Linked DNA regions of Homo sapiens: region 2 is linked to region 1. The links are contacts of gene promoters, found by promoter capture Hi-C in human tissues and cell types (Jung and others, 2019). All regions are on one chromosome and are shown on one strand. The core of a region is centred on a gene start or on the middle of the fragment in contact, and the rest is flanking DNA. Distances in the headings are between cores, read along the strand shown.

Evidence for each region. The method cuts DNA at HindIII sites, captures the fragments that hold promoters and counts their contacts. A contact is called where the count stands out against the background at its distance.
Region 2: a fragment that was not itself captured here is called in contact with the fragment with the promoter of EFCC1 in region 1 in 2 of the 25 tissues and cell types used here (aorta and psoas muscle).

Annotation. Positions count from the first base shown.
Region 1 is chr3:128,998,401-129,005,105 of GRCh38, reverse strand. EFCC1 (EF-hand and coiled-coil domain containing 1) reads right to left here and starts at 3,802. Exons shown (of 8, transcript NM_001377500.1): 1 at 2,782-3,802; 2 at 1,029-1,312. The coding sequence starts at 3,477. It also overlaps a transcript of CFAP92 not described here. The HindIII fragment of the contact is 14,506 bases long and covers 1-6,131 here.
Region 2 is chr3:129,729,677-129,736,292 of GRCh38, reverse strand. The region is part of intron 4 of TMCC1 (transmembrane and coiled-coil domain family 1); the gene reads left to right. Among named protein-coding and RNA genes, the nearest start is that of PLXND1, 130 kb to the right of the region's middle. RefSeq lists an enhancer at 804-1,304. The HindIII fragment of the contact is 5,355 bases long and covers 1-4,046 here.

The DNA.
Region 1 (6,705 bases), core at 2,553-5,052:
CAGAAAGTGCTCAGCAAATGTGTAGTCAGGCCGGCCAGCAGGCAGGGGTGACTTGTGATTTGAAAGGGAGAGAGGCTCTGTCTACCAAGCATCTACCATGTGCCAGGCAGGACCTCATGGCCTCTTCACAGCCACTCCCACAGGCAGGGACCCCAATCTGTGTTCCACCCAAGAGGAAGCAGGGTCTGTGAGGGGTGGTGACTTGCCCACACTCACACGTCTGCCAAAAGCCCTGCCAAGATTTGAACCTGGGTCCCAAGTCCAGCTTCCTGCCCTGGTGGAGCTAGCACAGGCAGTCATTACACACCTGTTTCCTCATCTACAGAGTGGAAACATAGCAGTACCCACCTCACAGGGCAGCTGTGAGGCTTAAATGAGTTAAGCCACATAAAGTACTTAGCTCAAGGCCTGGCAAACAGCGAGTGCTTAGTAACTGTAAGCTATTATCATTATGATCGAATCCAGGAACAAATAAGAATGAGCACATTCAACTGCAATCTATGATAAACAAATAGAGGGTGTTTGTGGATGAACAGGAGGATGGATGGACGGCTGGCTGGCTGGGTGGGTGGGGGGATGGATGGATGATGGATGGGTGGGTGGGTGAGTGGATGGGTGGGTGAGTGAGTGGATGGATGAATAGATGGATGGACGGGTGGGTAGGTGAGTGGATAGGTGGATGGATGAATGGGTGAGTGGATGGATGGGTGAGTGGATGGATGGGTGGGTGGGGGGGGTGAGTGAATGGACAAATGGATGGATGGATGGGTGGGTGTGTGGGGTGGGTGAATGGATGGACAGATGGATGGATAAATGGATGGGTGGGCAGATGGTTGCAGAGCAAGCAATGGAGCAGACTTATAACTTAAGAAATGGAGAACTGACAAAGGAATGAAAGAATACATGAATAAACGCATGGAGAAACTGCGGAACACGAGAGCGCGTGGGAGGGGGATTGCACACCCGAAGTTTGGGAAAATGGGAGCCGAATTGGGGAACTTGGGCCCAGGGCACGCGCCCCCGCTCACCTGTAGCGTTGCAGCTCCGCCTCCAGCCGCCGCACCCAGCGCTGCAAGCCGGGCACCTGTTGCGCCAGCGCCTCCAGCTCTCGCACGCGGTGCAGGCTGCGCAGCACCACCTGCCGGGCCTCCTCCGCGCGCCGCCGCACCTCGGCCTGGCCACGGCGCAGCCGCCCAGCGCGGGCCTCCGCCGCAGCCAGGGCGCCCTGCGCCTGACGCAGCTCCCGCACCGCAGCCTCCGGCCCGCCGTGCCCCATCTCGTGGGTGCTCGCCTGGCTCTTCCAGAGTCCGACCTGCGGGGACAGGGCAGCAGGGGCAGGGGGTAAGTGCCCCAGCCAGATGCACCAGACGAACGCCCGCCACGACGGCGGCCCCATGCCTCTGCACCCAGAAGCGCTTGAGCACGTTTCTTGCGCCGTCTGCTTCCGGGTGCCAGGCCCTTAGGTCCGGTGCGTCCAAGCTCCTTTAACCCTCGCCACATCCCCAGGGAGGCCCAAGCTCTGATTCCTCCTCATCCCCCACCCCCCAACGTTTTTTCACTGAAGGAAACTGAGACACGACGCCTGTATTCTGTTCCCTCTATAGTACCAACCTCGCGACTCTTCTCGGCCTACTGTATTGGCGGCGTTCAGCCTGCCGGGTGGCGGTTCCTCATCTCCTAGACTCCCCCCAGTGGCATTTCCAGCCCTCCCCGTGCCTGCTCACTAGAGGCTTTTGAGGGTGGTTTCTATCTGTCTTTACTGGTGTGTTCCCAGAGCCTAAAACAAACCTGGCACATAGTAGGTGCTCAATAAATACCAAGCATGAGAGATGCCGGAAGACCGTTCAGGCGCATCCCATGGCTCCCAGTACGTTACTTGGGATTCCACATCAGAGGAGTAGTTTCCCGCCTCCACCCTGGCTTCCATGCACACTGACACTGAAAACCACACCTTGCCACTTCCCTGCACTCTGCAGTGTCCTGAGCTAAGGCGGGGTCATATAATGTCAGTTTCTTCCTGGCCTGTTGTCGCCTGGGGTAGGGGCTGTTCCTTTCCTCCTCTGACCCCTGCGGCCCAGCACTGCCCTTGGTGCTCGGCTGGCACAGTGCTTAAGTGTTTGTCGACGGCTCCCAGATGCTAAGGCTGGGTCCCTATCTCACCCCATGGTTTCTTCTCAATAGCCCAGAGCGGGTCTGGTTCCCGCAGGCACTTGGTGGCCCGTGAGTGCCTGATCCACAGTGTGAGCCACATTGTCTGTTTCTCACTTGTCTCTGTTTCTCCCACAGGGAGCCCCATAAGTCTTTGCTGATTGACAGAAGGAGCTGTCAGTCTACCCCAGGAGGCAGGGATATCCCTAAAGGTGAGGACAGGGCCTTCTTCACACTTCTGTCTCCTAAACCTCCCAGAAGCCTGGCAGGAAGGAGAGAGAAAGATGCTTGTTGAAAGGGAATATGTGAGACTACCCAGACAGGTGCAATTCCTAGGTTAAAGGGGCAAGACGCGATGATGTGGCGGTGGAGCAGAAAAGTGGGGTATGGTTGTTTGAGTGTGATTGGGGTTTTCAGGAATGGAATAGGTGGTAAGAATAGGGTTGGGGACTGGAGTGGAATGGGGAGGAACAGGGGCAAGATGCAAGTGTGCTGATGCGGAGTGGGATGGTGTGGGGCTGCCCTCTGTCTCCCCTTCCTCTGACTCTGTCCTGTCGGGCTCCGCAGCCAGCCAGCTTTTAGTTCGAGCCCTCTCCCGGGCGTTACCACCCTCCCTTCGTGGCCGGCGCGCACCTGCAGTGCTAGGCAGCGCGCATCACTGCTCTGCAGCGCGGCGCGCAGGTCCTCCACCAACTCGCGCAAGCTGCTATTCTCCTCCTCCAGCCGCGCAACGCGCTCACAGTCAGGACCGCTGTCGGGGCCAGGCGCGCAGGGCGGGCGGCGGCGGCGGCGCGGACGGCGCAGGCGGATCTGCGTCTCGATGTGCTCGCTGAGAGCGCCGCGGGGCAGCCGGGGCCCCGCACGGGTGCCGAAGTAGCCACAGAGGCGCGCGTGGAACTGGCGGAAGGTGAGCTCCGGCGGCTCGGCGCGCAGCGCCAGGCGCGCCTCTTCATCGGTATCTGAGTCCCCGTCCGTGGCCAACTCAGCGGCCGCATCCCCGGGGGTCACATCTCTGGAGTTCCCGTCACCTGCTGCCTGCCCGGCCGTGGTGGCCCCCTCCGCGCGCAGCCCCAGCACAGCGCAGAGCGCTCGGAAGTCGGCGCGGGGCAGACGGCCGGCGCCGCGGCAGTCCAGGTGGTGGAAGACCTCCTGCAGGTACTGGTCCAGGCCGGTGGCCAGCACCACGATCTCGTTCTCCACGCCGCGGTCCAGCCCGTAGTGGTGCGCCAGGGCGCTCAGCAGCCACTGCGTGCGCCGCGCAGGTCGCCGGTACGGGTCACCTCCCGCGCCCTCCATGCCGGCCTCCGCGCCCGTGCTGACCGGCTCCATCGCTGCGCCGCGCGCCTCGCTCCTCCGGTCCCTCCTCCGGTCCCTTCGCCCCGCCACTTCCAGGGGCGGCCCCAGAGTTTCTCGAAAGGAGGGGCTTAGCGGTCGCGGTCTGGTTGGAGCGGCGCCGGGGACCGTGTCCAGCAGCTGCGCTGGCCTCACAGTGCGTCTGGTTTACCCCAGTTGCTTTGGAGGGGCCTGGGGTAGGGGGTCCAGGAACCCCCGGGACCCCGGCAGCGCCACCAGTGCCCGGTCGGCGTCTGGGTCTGGCTTCTCCGCGTGACTCCCACGCTCTCCTCTCCTCACTCACGGGGCGTTCCTGGCGTCTGCGCTTTTCCTCCCACTCCCGGCCGTCCACTCTCAACTCCCTCCTCCCTCCGCCCCGCCCGCCTGGCGCGGAGAGTTCGCTCCGAGACCTGGGCGAGGGGTTGGCGCGGGATCCGAAGCCCAGGAGGGCCTTGGGGGTGGCGGCCTCGTCCGGTTGCTGGGGATGTGCCCCCACACCCAAGCGTCACTCTTCCCCCTCTTCCCGGAAGGCCTTTCGAGGGTTGCCTGGCAAGCCTGCTCTCGCCGCCCTGTAGCCGTAGGTGCGGAAAAGCCTCCCCTCCGCTTCAATTCAGCTACTGGGTTTCCGAACCCACTTCTTGTGCCACCATAGACCGTGCAAAGAGCCCCAAGTAGTAACTGGGAAAGAGAGGGAAACAGGCTTGGAGAGGCAAGGGGTCTAGGTTAGGGGCACCCCGCTGGTGAGAAGCCCATCTGAGACGAGCCCTGTGCTAACTGCTCTCTCCCGATCCCTGTTGGGGGTGGGGATAGGACTCTCGGGAAAGTGGTGTCTCCCGGCCCTGCCACCTTTGTGCCTGCCGGTGCTGACTTGGCAATGGGATCCGAGTTCCATCTCTTGAGCTGGGGTTAGGTTAACAGGTCGATGATTGGCTGATGTTTTTTTCTGGTGTTTTAGAACACATTTCTGGAAGATGAAGAAAAACCTGCTTCTCTGGTGAGTGCTAGACTGTGTTCCCTTTCTTTTTCACGAGAGGGGTGCAGTGATATTGTGATATTGTCCACCTGTTACCTGCACCGGGAACGGTTATCCAGCCACGGTACCCAGCCATGTTGGAGCAAGAGGCAGACTCTTCAGCTGTTCCTAGCTATGACAGAGACAGAATCTTGCCTTGTGGATAACTCTGTGAGTTTAAATGTAAAATCTTGCCGTTTGAAAAGCGATAGCATTCTGTCTCCTCTGCCACAGTATCCCAGAATCAGCACGTTGTCCATTTGGCAAATTCGTACTTGTTCTTGAAGGCTTTGCCCAGAGTACATATCTGCTGGGAAGGAGTTAGAGGCTTCTCCCCAAGCATTTTGGACATATTCTTTTAGGTTTGTTTTTAATTATAAAAGTAATGGCAATTTGACAAAGTTTTTACATCACGTCCACTTCTTGGCTTCTACCTTCGAAAGCCACTGTGCACAGGATGTTCACTGCATCATTGTTTATTACAGTGAGAAACTGGAGACAACCTGGTGTCCATCAAATCAGCTAGGACTCAGCAAACGAGGATGAGCGGACACAGCAAGCCACAAGCTGATTATGCACAACACTGATGCTTACATAACAAGAACAAAAACACACAAAACAATACTAAGTATTTTCTACTAGGACATGTGTATGTGAGTGCACAGAAGAAGATGGAGGGATTCATAAGTGGATTCAGTGGTTCTTTCTGCAGATGGGAGACACTGCAGTATTTCCCTTTTGTTAAGATGTTCTCATGTGTTTCTTTTTCTTGGCCGGTCGCGGTGGCTCACGCCTGTAATCCCACCACTTTGGGAGGCCGAGGCGGGTGGATTGCCTGAGGTCAAGAGTTCGAGAACAGCCTGGACAACATAGTGAACCACCCCCATCTCTACTAAAAATACCAAAAGTTAGCTGGGCGTGGTGGCAGGCGCCTGTAATCCCAGTTACTTGGGAGGCTGAGGCAGATGAATCGCTTGAACCTGGGAGGCGGAGGTTGCAGTAAGCTGAGATCCTGCCATTGCACTCCAGCCTGGGCGACAGAGCGAGACTCCGTCTCAAAAAAAAAAAAAAAAAAAAAAAAAGAACCTGATTTTATTTCATGTCAGCCCTAAGAGCTGGTAGCCCAGGCAAGAGTGCAACACCCTCCCCACCCCCCATCCCTGCAGCTGGTGAAGGAATCCTTTGAACAGTAGCTTTCCTGGGCCAGTCAATATTGAAAAGAAAGCTTTTAAATGTCTTGCTGGGAGCCGTTGCCGGCCTCCACTCCCCTACAGCTCAGGGAAGTAAGGGTTGATAATGGTTTGCTGTCAGGCCTGTCTGTCTGCCCTGCGGTGTTACCAGGCACCTCTGAAATAATTCTGGTTGCATCCACAAGGTTTTTGTTTAAGGTTCAAAGTGAGCAAACTCAGAGGTCTCCTTGCGTTCTTTTGTATGAGCTGGGGGGATGGGCGTGTGTCTGTGTGGGAGAGAGTCAGGGCTGTGGCAAAGAAATGATTTTCTGAAGTCAGTTCAGTATTGTTTGAGCCATTTCAAATAGTATATTGTTTAAAGTGTCTTTTAAAGGTCCGGGAAAATGCTAAAAAGCAAAAATCATCCACCATTCTGCCACCAAGAGAGGATCACTGTGTATTTCTGATGTATTTATTTCCAGACTTTTCTATGTATTTGGGCATGAAAGAACTTTTTGGAGTGATTGAAATACTCTATCTTCATGGTGTAGTGGTTGCATGACTGTGTACATCTGAATTTTACAGTGTGCAAATCGTAGCTCATTCAACTTGACATGAAAAGCACAGTGGAAAGGGCGCCATTGGGATCTTTCTTTGCACAGGAACTGAGCTTTGTAAACAGCTTGGCTGTGGTTTCTTTGCAGACACTGCTCCAGAGGCTGCTCTGTGCTCCCTGGGGATGAACTATAAGGTGCTTTGTCATCCCCCACAGATGCCCACTGAGGTGGTTTTCAGCTTTTCTCCGCAAAAACCATACTGTGAACAGTTTGTGCCATATCTTGAGTGATTTATTACTGGGCCAAGGAGTATACATATTTTATAAGCTTGTGGTATTATCAGCCTGTTTTTTGGAAACTTGTGTTGTTCTATCCAGAGCCCAGAACTGTCTGGGAATGTCCTTGGGCCATTATTTTCAGTGTCATAAAGCTTTTGGGTTTTTAGGGGTCTTGGTTAGTAGATTTGCTTAGTGTTCAGACACCAAGC
Region 2 (6,616 bases), core at 120-2,619, 730 kb before region 1:
GGTATGTCCTGCCAGTTGCAGATGCAGATGAGTCAGTAGAATTGATAGTTTGGCATTTGTGCCAGTAGATACCAAGTGAACATGGTGATCACTTGCTCATCCTCCTCACAATCCCTGCACGAGATCCACAGCCTTAACTCAGGTGACCCAGCAGATTTTTGGGTCATTTGTAAGATCAAAAAAACAAATTCTCTACTTTCTTACCCAGCAAGTCATATGAGAGCCAGAAGAGGGTATAGAATGAGTAAAACTCCCCTTTCTACTCTGGCCAAAGTACATTACTTAAGGTCTACAGATAAGAGCAGGTCTTTCGGCTCTACTCCATGTAGACTTTTCTTTCTCTGATGTTCCAGGAGTCCCCCCAGAAGGTCAGCAGGCTTCTACCATGTTCGCAGCTTTGAACGAAATCACTGCCAGGCTGCAAGATGTGCCAAATAACCTGCTGTACTGTATTGTAGCAGATGATGGTGGGGAAAGCAAGAGAGCTCATAGAGGCTGCTCCTCTCCTTACTGTCTTGAGTCATGAGACCTTTACTTAGGATATAACAGAAGCTAACCTGTTTTTCACTTGCTCTCTTACATGCACTTTTGAAACGTATTAAATCTTCATAATCCCTGGTTCTCTTTGCTTTTTTTTTTTTTTTTAAGAGAGTCTTGGCTCTGTCGCCCAGGCTGGAGTGCAGTGGCACAATCATAGTTCACAGCAGCCTTGAACTCCTGGGCTCAAGAGATCCTCCCGCCTCAGCCTCCCAAGTAGCTAGGACTACAGGTGCGTGCCACAACACCTGGCTATTTTTTTCTTTTTCCTTTTTTGTGGAGACAGGATCTCACTGTGTTGCCAAGGCTGGTCTCAAACTCTTGCCTCAAGCAATCCTCCTGCCTCAGCTCCCAAAGTGCTGGGATTACAGGAGTGAGCCATCACACCTGGCCCCTTTTAGCTTGCTTAAACACACTTTTTTGGCGAAGTGTGTTTAGCTAACATATTGTTAGAATATTCTTTCATTAAACATTTGAATGTTAACAATGTAATGTATATATGTTCTCATAGTTTTTTTCTTTCTGATTTTTGTGTTATAAAATATTTCAAACAGAGGCTGGGTGCAGTGGCTCACGCCTGTAATCCCAACACTTTGGGAGGCCAAGGCGGGCGGGTCATGAGGTCAGGAGATAGAGACCAGCCTGGCTAACACAGTGAAACCCCATCTCTGCTAAAAATGTAAAAAATTAGCCGGGCGTGGTGGCGGGCGCCTGTAGTCCCAGCTGCTTGGGAGGCTGAGGCAGGAGAACAGCATGAACCCGGAGACGGAGCTTGCAGTGAGCCGAGATCACGCCACTGCACTCCAGCCTGGGTGACAGGGCGAGACTCCATCTCAAAAAAAAAAAAAAAATTTCGAACAGAAAAATAAAGAGATTAATGGGTGGCTGTATGCAAGAAAAATGAAAAAGAGAATAACAACAAACACTCAAGCACAATTACCAAGCTTTTCAAACTTGGTACTTTCATTTTTTTGTGTACCATTCCTCAATCCATTCCGCTTCTTCAGAGACAAGTACTATCCTGAATTTAGTGTTTTTCATTAACATATGTGTTTTATTCTTTTGTGTTTTTTGAGACAGAATCTCCCTCTGTCACCCATGCTGGAGTGCAGTGATGCAATCACAGCTCACTGCAGCCTCTGCCTTCTGGGCTCAAGCAATCCTCCCACCTCAGCCTCAAGTAGCTGGGACTACAGGCACCAGCACCAAGCCCAGCTAATTTTTATATTGTTTGTAGTGACGGGGTTTCTCCATGTTGCCCAGGCTGATGTCAAACTCCTGAGCTTAAGCAGTCTGCCCACCTCAGCCTCTCAAATAACAAATATGTCTATGTACTTGTATTGCATGTACATCTGTCCATAAAAAAACATATAGTTTTGTTTTACATGATTTTAAATTTTATGTAAATGATTCTCTTCTACATGTTATGCAAGTCTGTATACGCAAAATTTCTTTACTCTTTTCACTTGATATCATGCTTTTGAAATTATTTACACTGATAACATATAGTTCTGATCTACTTGTTGTATAGTATTCTGTTTTATGAATATACCAGTTTGTAAGTTGATTCTCCTGTTAATGGACATACAGTTTTCAATATTTCATTGTTTCATAAACAGTGCTACAGTGAATACTCTTGAACATGTCTTCTTATGCAAATATATGGAGTTTCTCTAGTATATACTAATTTATCTAGTAATTCCTAGGAATGGATTTACTGGGTTATACAGTATATTCATCTTCTGTTTAACTAGATATTGCTAAATTGCTATCCAGAGTGATTATGCTAACTTATTCCTATCAGTAGTGTGTGAAAGTTCCCATTGACCTGCATCTTCACAAACACTTAAAATTTTTGCCTGTTCGTGGATGTGAAATGGTGCTATCTACACAGTTTCTTTCTGTGTAGTGATTTGTTTATGTTGGGCAAAGCTTATGATAGCTAGTGGAGCTGATTGACATCCTAGATATTTTAATTCAGGAAATATTAGTGCTTAATTATACAAACAGGTTGGTAGGCTATTCTGAATGAAATGCTGCTTGCTGGTGAAATACTCTGTTTTCAAGACCGCAAAACTAAAACCTTGTTTTAGGAATTCTATACAAGAATAACTTTGGGGAAAATTTTTTCCCTTAGGGCATTTCCACTTTCCAAATTTTTCCTCGTTGTTCCCTTTTCCTCCAATGATTCTCTTAATTCTGACTGATACCAGTCAGGGCATGAAAGAATGAAATGTCCAAACCCTTACTGACAAATTATACCTGACAGCAGAATAAACCCACATCTACTAAGAGGCTTCCATGGTTTTTACTGCTATCACTTTGATTACTCCAATAATGAAACTATTGAATCTGTTTCTTAGAAGCCAAGGTAAGAAAGCAGAGAATAGTCTGCCATTGAACTGATAGCATCTGTTTTATAATTATCTGGTGACTTTTCTAGAGAAGATGCATAAAGGCTGTGTTGTTTCATGTACACCACACTTGAATGATTGCTTCTTGAGTTGGATTGTACTCCAGTTATCTATTTCTGTGTAACAGTTCACCTCAGAACTTCGTGGCTTAAGATGCCTGTTATGGGTAAGATGGAGCAAACACATTTCACCTGTCTTTTCTACTGAACTCAGCTAAAACACCTGGCCTAGAGCAACTATTTGAGGACTCCAAAAGACGTATCTTAAAAGTTGCACTAAGAAGGAGCAGATTTTGAAGTACTGTTGAACCAGGGTTTAATTTATCATTCTCACCTCTCTCATATCCTCAGGCTTCAAATCAACACAGCCTAAAACCCCTAAGTGGACATTAATGTGGATAAGAGAACTCTAGGAGAAGCCTTCAGTTCTGGTTCAAAGAATGGGAAGGCGATATTGTAATACTAATAGAAAGTACAGAAACTTTTTCTTTTTTCCTTTTTCTTTCCTCTGTTCTCTTGCACCATGAACCTCAAGCAGTCCTGCAGTGACAGCAGATTGGGGTCTAGCAAGAGCTTAAAACTCTGATTTTAGGGAACCATTCTCAGATCAGTGGAGCTGTGGTTACAAGAGGGTGGAATGAGTCTCAATTGCTTTTTTTCTCTCTCCTTCATCTGCTTGCTTCCAAACAAAGGCACTATTATGGAAATTGTATGGCTGAGCAGAGTAAATAACATACCAGCTTTCTGACTAGGTAATGAGAAAGGGGAATCCCATTGACCTAGAAAGTACTGGGAGATTATAAGATATTTGAAAATAAACTCTTTAAATTTTATTATGAATTTTTGAGCTTATTCATGCAGTCTGCATGCAGAAATCTGACCCCAAACAGTATACCTAGACTTTGAGAAATGAAGTAGGGGTTAGACCATTGCCAAGTCCCAGACTGGCAACAGGGTGGGTGGTGCATCTGTGGGACAGATCCAAAAAGCACTGCAAAGACTTTGAAAACTTAACTGACATTGGAGTTCTGGCTGGGGAACAGTGCAAGGATGTCCTCTCTGGCAATTTCTATTGGTATTGAAGTTCTCGCCAGTAAAATAAATCAAGAAAAGGAAATAAAAGACATACAAATTGGAAAGAAAGAAGTAAAACAATTTCTATTCACTGGCTACATCACTGTATATGTAGAAAACCAAGGAATCCACAGAATACTCCTAGAACTAAGTGAGGTTAGCAAGGTTGCAACATACTATGCCAGTCTACACAAAATATTTAGAAAAAAAATTTCAAAAAGTTCCAAAAAGCAAAATTTGAATTTGCCACACATGAAATACTATGTTGAATCCATGTGAATGAAGTGATGTGTAGGCATTGCATTGGGTATTATAAATCTAGAGATTCTTTAAAACATATGGGAAGCCAGGCACAGTGGCTCACACCTGTAATCCCAGACCTTTGGGAGGCTGAGGCAGGTGAATCGTTTAAGCTCAGGAGTTCAAGACCAGCCTGGGCAGCATGGCAAAACCCTGTCTCTACCAAAAAAAATACGAAAAACTAGCCGGGCTTGGGGGCTGACACCTGTAGTCTCAGCTCCTTGGGAGGCTGAGGTGGGAGGATGGCTTGAGCCAGTAAGTATGAAATTAGCTGCTGTGTAAAAAAATTTTGGGCCAGGCACGGTGGCTCACGCCTGTTTAAAAAAAAAAAAATGATGAAGTTCCCCTCTATTCCTAATTTGCTAAGAGTTCTTATTTATTTATTTATTTAGAGACGGAGTCTCACTCTGTCACCCAGACTGGAGTGCAGTGGCACGATGTCGGTTAACTGCAACCTCTGCCTCCTGGGTTCAAGTGATTCTTGTGCCTCAGTCTCCCAAGTAGCTGGGATTACAGGCATGCATCACGATGTCTAGCTAATTTTTGTATTTTTAGTAGAGACAGGGTTTCACCATGTTGGCTAGACTGGTCTCAAACTCCTGGCCTCATGTGATCTCTCCACCTTGGCCTCCCAAAGTGCTGAGATTACAGGTGTGAGCCACCGCGTCCAGCCTAATTGGCTAAGAGTTTAATAATGAGTGGCTGTTGACTTTTCTCAAATGCTTTTCCTGTATAAATTGATATCATGTGGTTTTGCTTCTCTGGGCTAATGTTGCTTACCTTGCTTGGTTTTCAAATATTGAACCAGCATTGCATTCCTGATACAAACCCTGCTTGGTTATGGTATATTATTCTTCATATACATTGCTAGGTTTGATTTGCTAGTATGAGGGCTATTGGTCTGCTGTCTTGTTTTGTTTTAACAGATCTTCTCCGGGTTTAATTCCTGGATAATGCTGGCTTCATAAAATGAGTTCCTCCTTCTGCTTTCTGGAACAGATTGTATAGAATTGATTTATTTGTAATGAATGTTTGGTAGAATTTAGTGAAACCACAGGGAGATTTCTTTTTCAGAATATGTTTAATTACAAAATTTCATTTTAAAAACTGTTATATAACCATTCAGTTTATCTATTTCATCTTAGGTGATTCTGGTAGTTTGTTGTTTGAGAATTTGGTCCGCTTCATGTAAACTGTTGATTTATGTACACACAGTTCTTTGTAGGCATTCCCTATTATCCTTTTAACACAATTCCAATCAGAAATCTCAGCAGGACCTTTTTGTAGAGATAGACAAGCTTATTCTTAAATATATATCGAAAGGCAAAAGAACTAGAAGAGTCAACCATACTGGAAAAGAAAAATAAAGTTACGTGAATTATTCTGCCCAGCTTTCAGACTTACCATAAAGCTACAGTAACCAAGATGAGGCCATATTAGTAAAAGGGTACACATGTAGATTAATGGAATAGAATAGAAAGTTCAGAAATAGACCCACGTAAATATTGCCAGTTCATATTTCACAAAAATACAAAGGCAATTCAATGGAGAAAGGATAGTGTTTTCAAAAAGAGGTGTTGGAAAAAGTAGAAATCTGTAGGCAAAAACTTGAACTTCTCACACCTTATATAAAAATTAACACAAAATAAATCATAAATTAATATATAAAATAAACTATGAAACTTTTAGAACAACACAGGAAATTTTTAATCTGTGAAAGATGCTATCGAGAGAATTAAAGGGCATGCTGCATATTGGGAGAAAAATTTGTAAATCACATATCTGACAAAGGACTTATATTCAGAATACAGATGGTTCCTGACTTAAAATGGTTCAACTTAACAATTTTTTTGACTTTACAATGGTGCAAAAGCAATATATGTCTAGCAGAAACCATATTTCGAGTACCTGTACAACTATTCTGTTATTCACTATCAGTACAATAGTCAATAAATTATTTTTCTATTTTTTTATTTTATTTATTTAAAAATTTTTTTAAAAGCAGAGACAAGGTCTCACTCGTTGGCCAGGCTGGTCTTGAACTCCTGGGCTCAATTATTCCTCCCATCTCCGCTCAATATTCCTCCCATCTCAGCCTCCTAAAGTGCTGGGATTACAGGCATGAGCCACTGTGCCTGGCCTCATTCCTTTTTATGAAATAGGCTTTGCGTTAGGTGATTTTGCCAACTGTGGGCTAATGTAAGCGTTCTGAGCAATTTAAGGTAGGTTAGGCTAAGCCATGATGTTCAGTAAGTTAGGTATATTAAATACACTTTCAACTTGCAATATTTT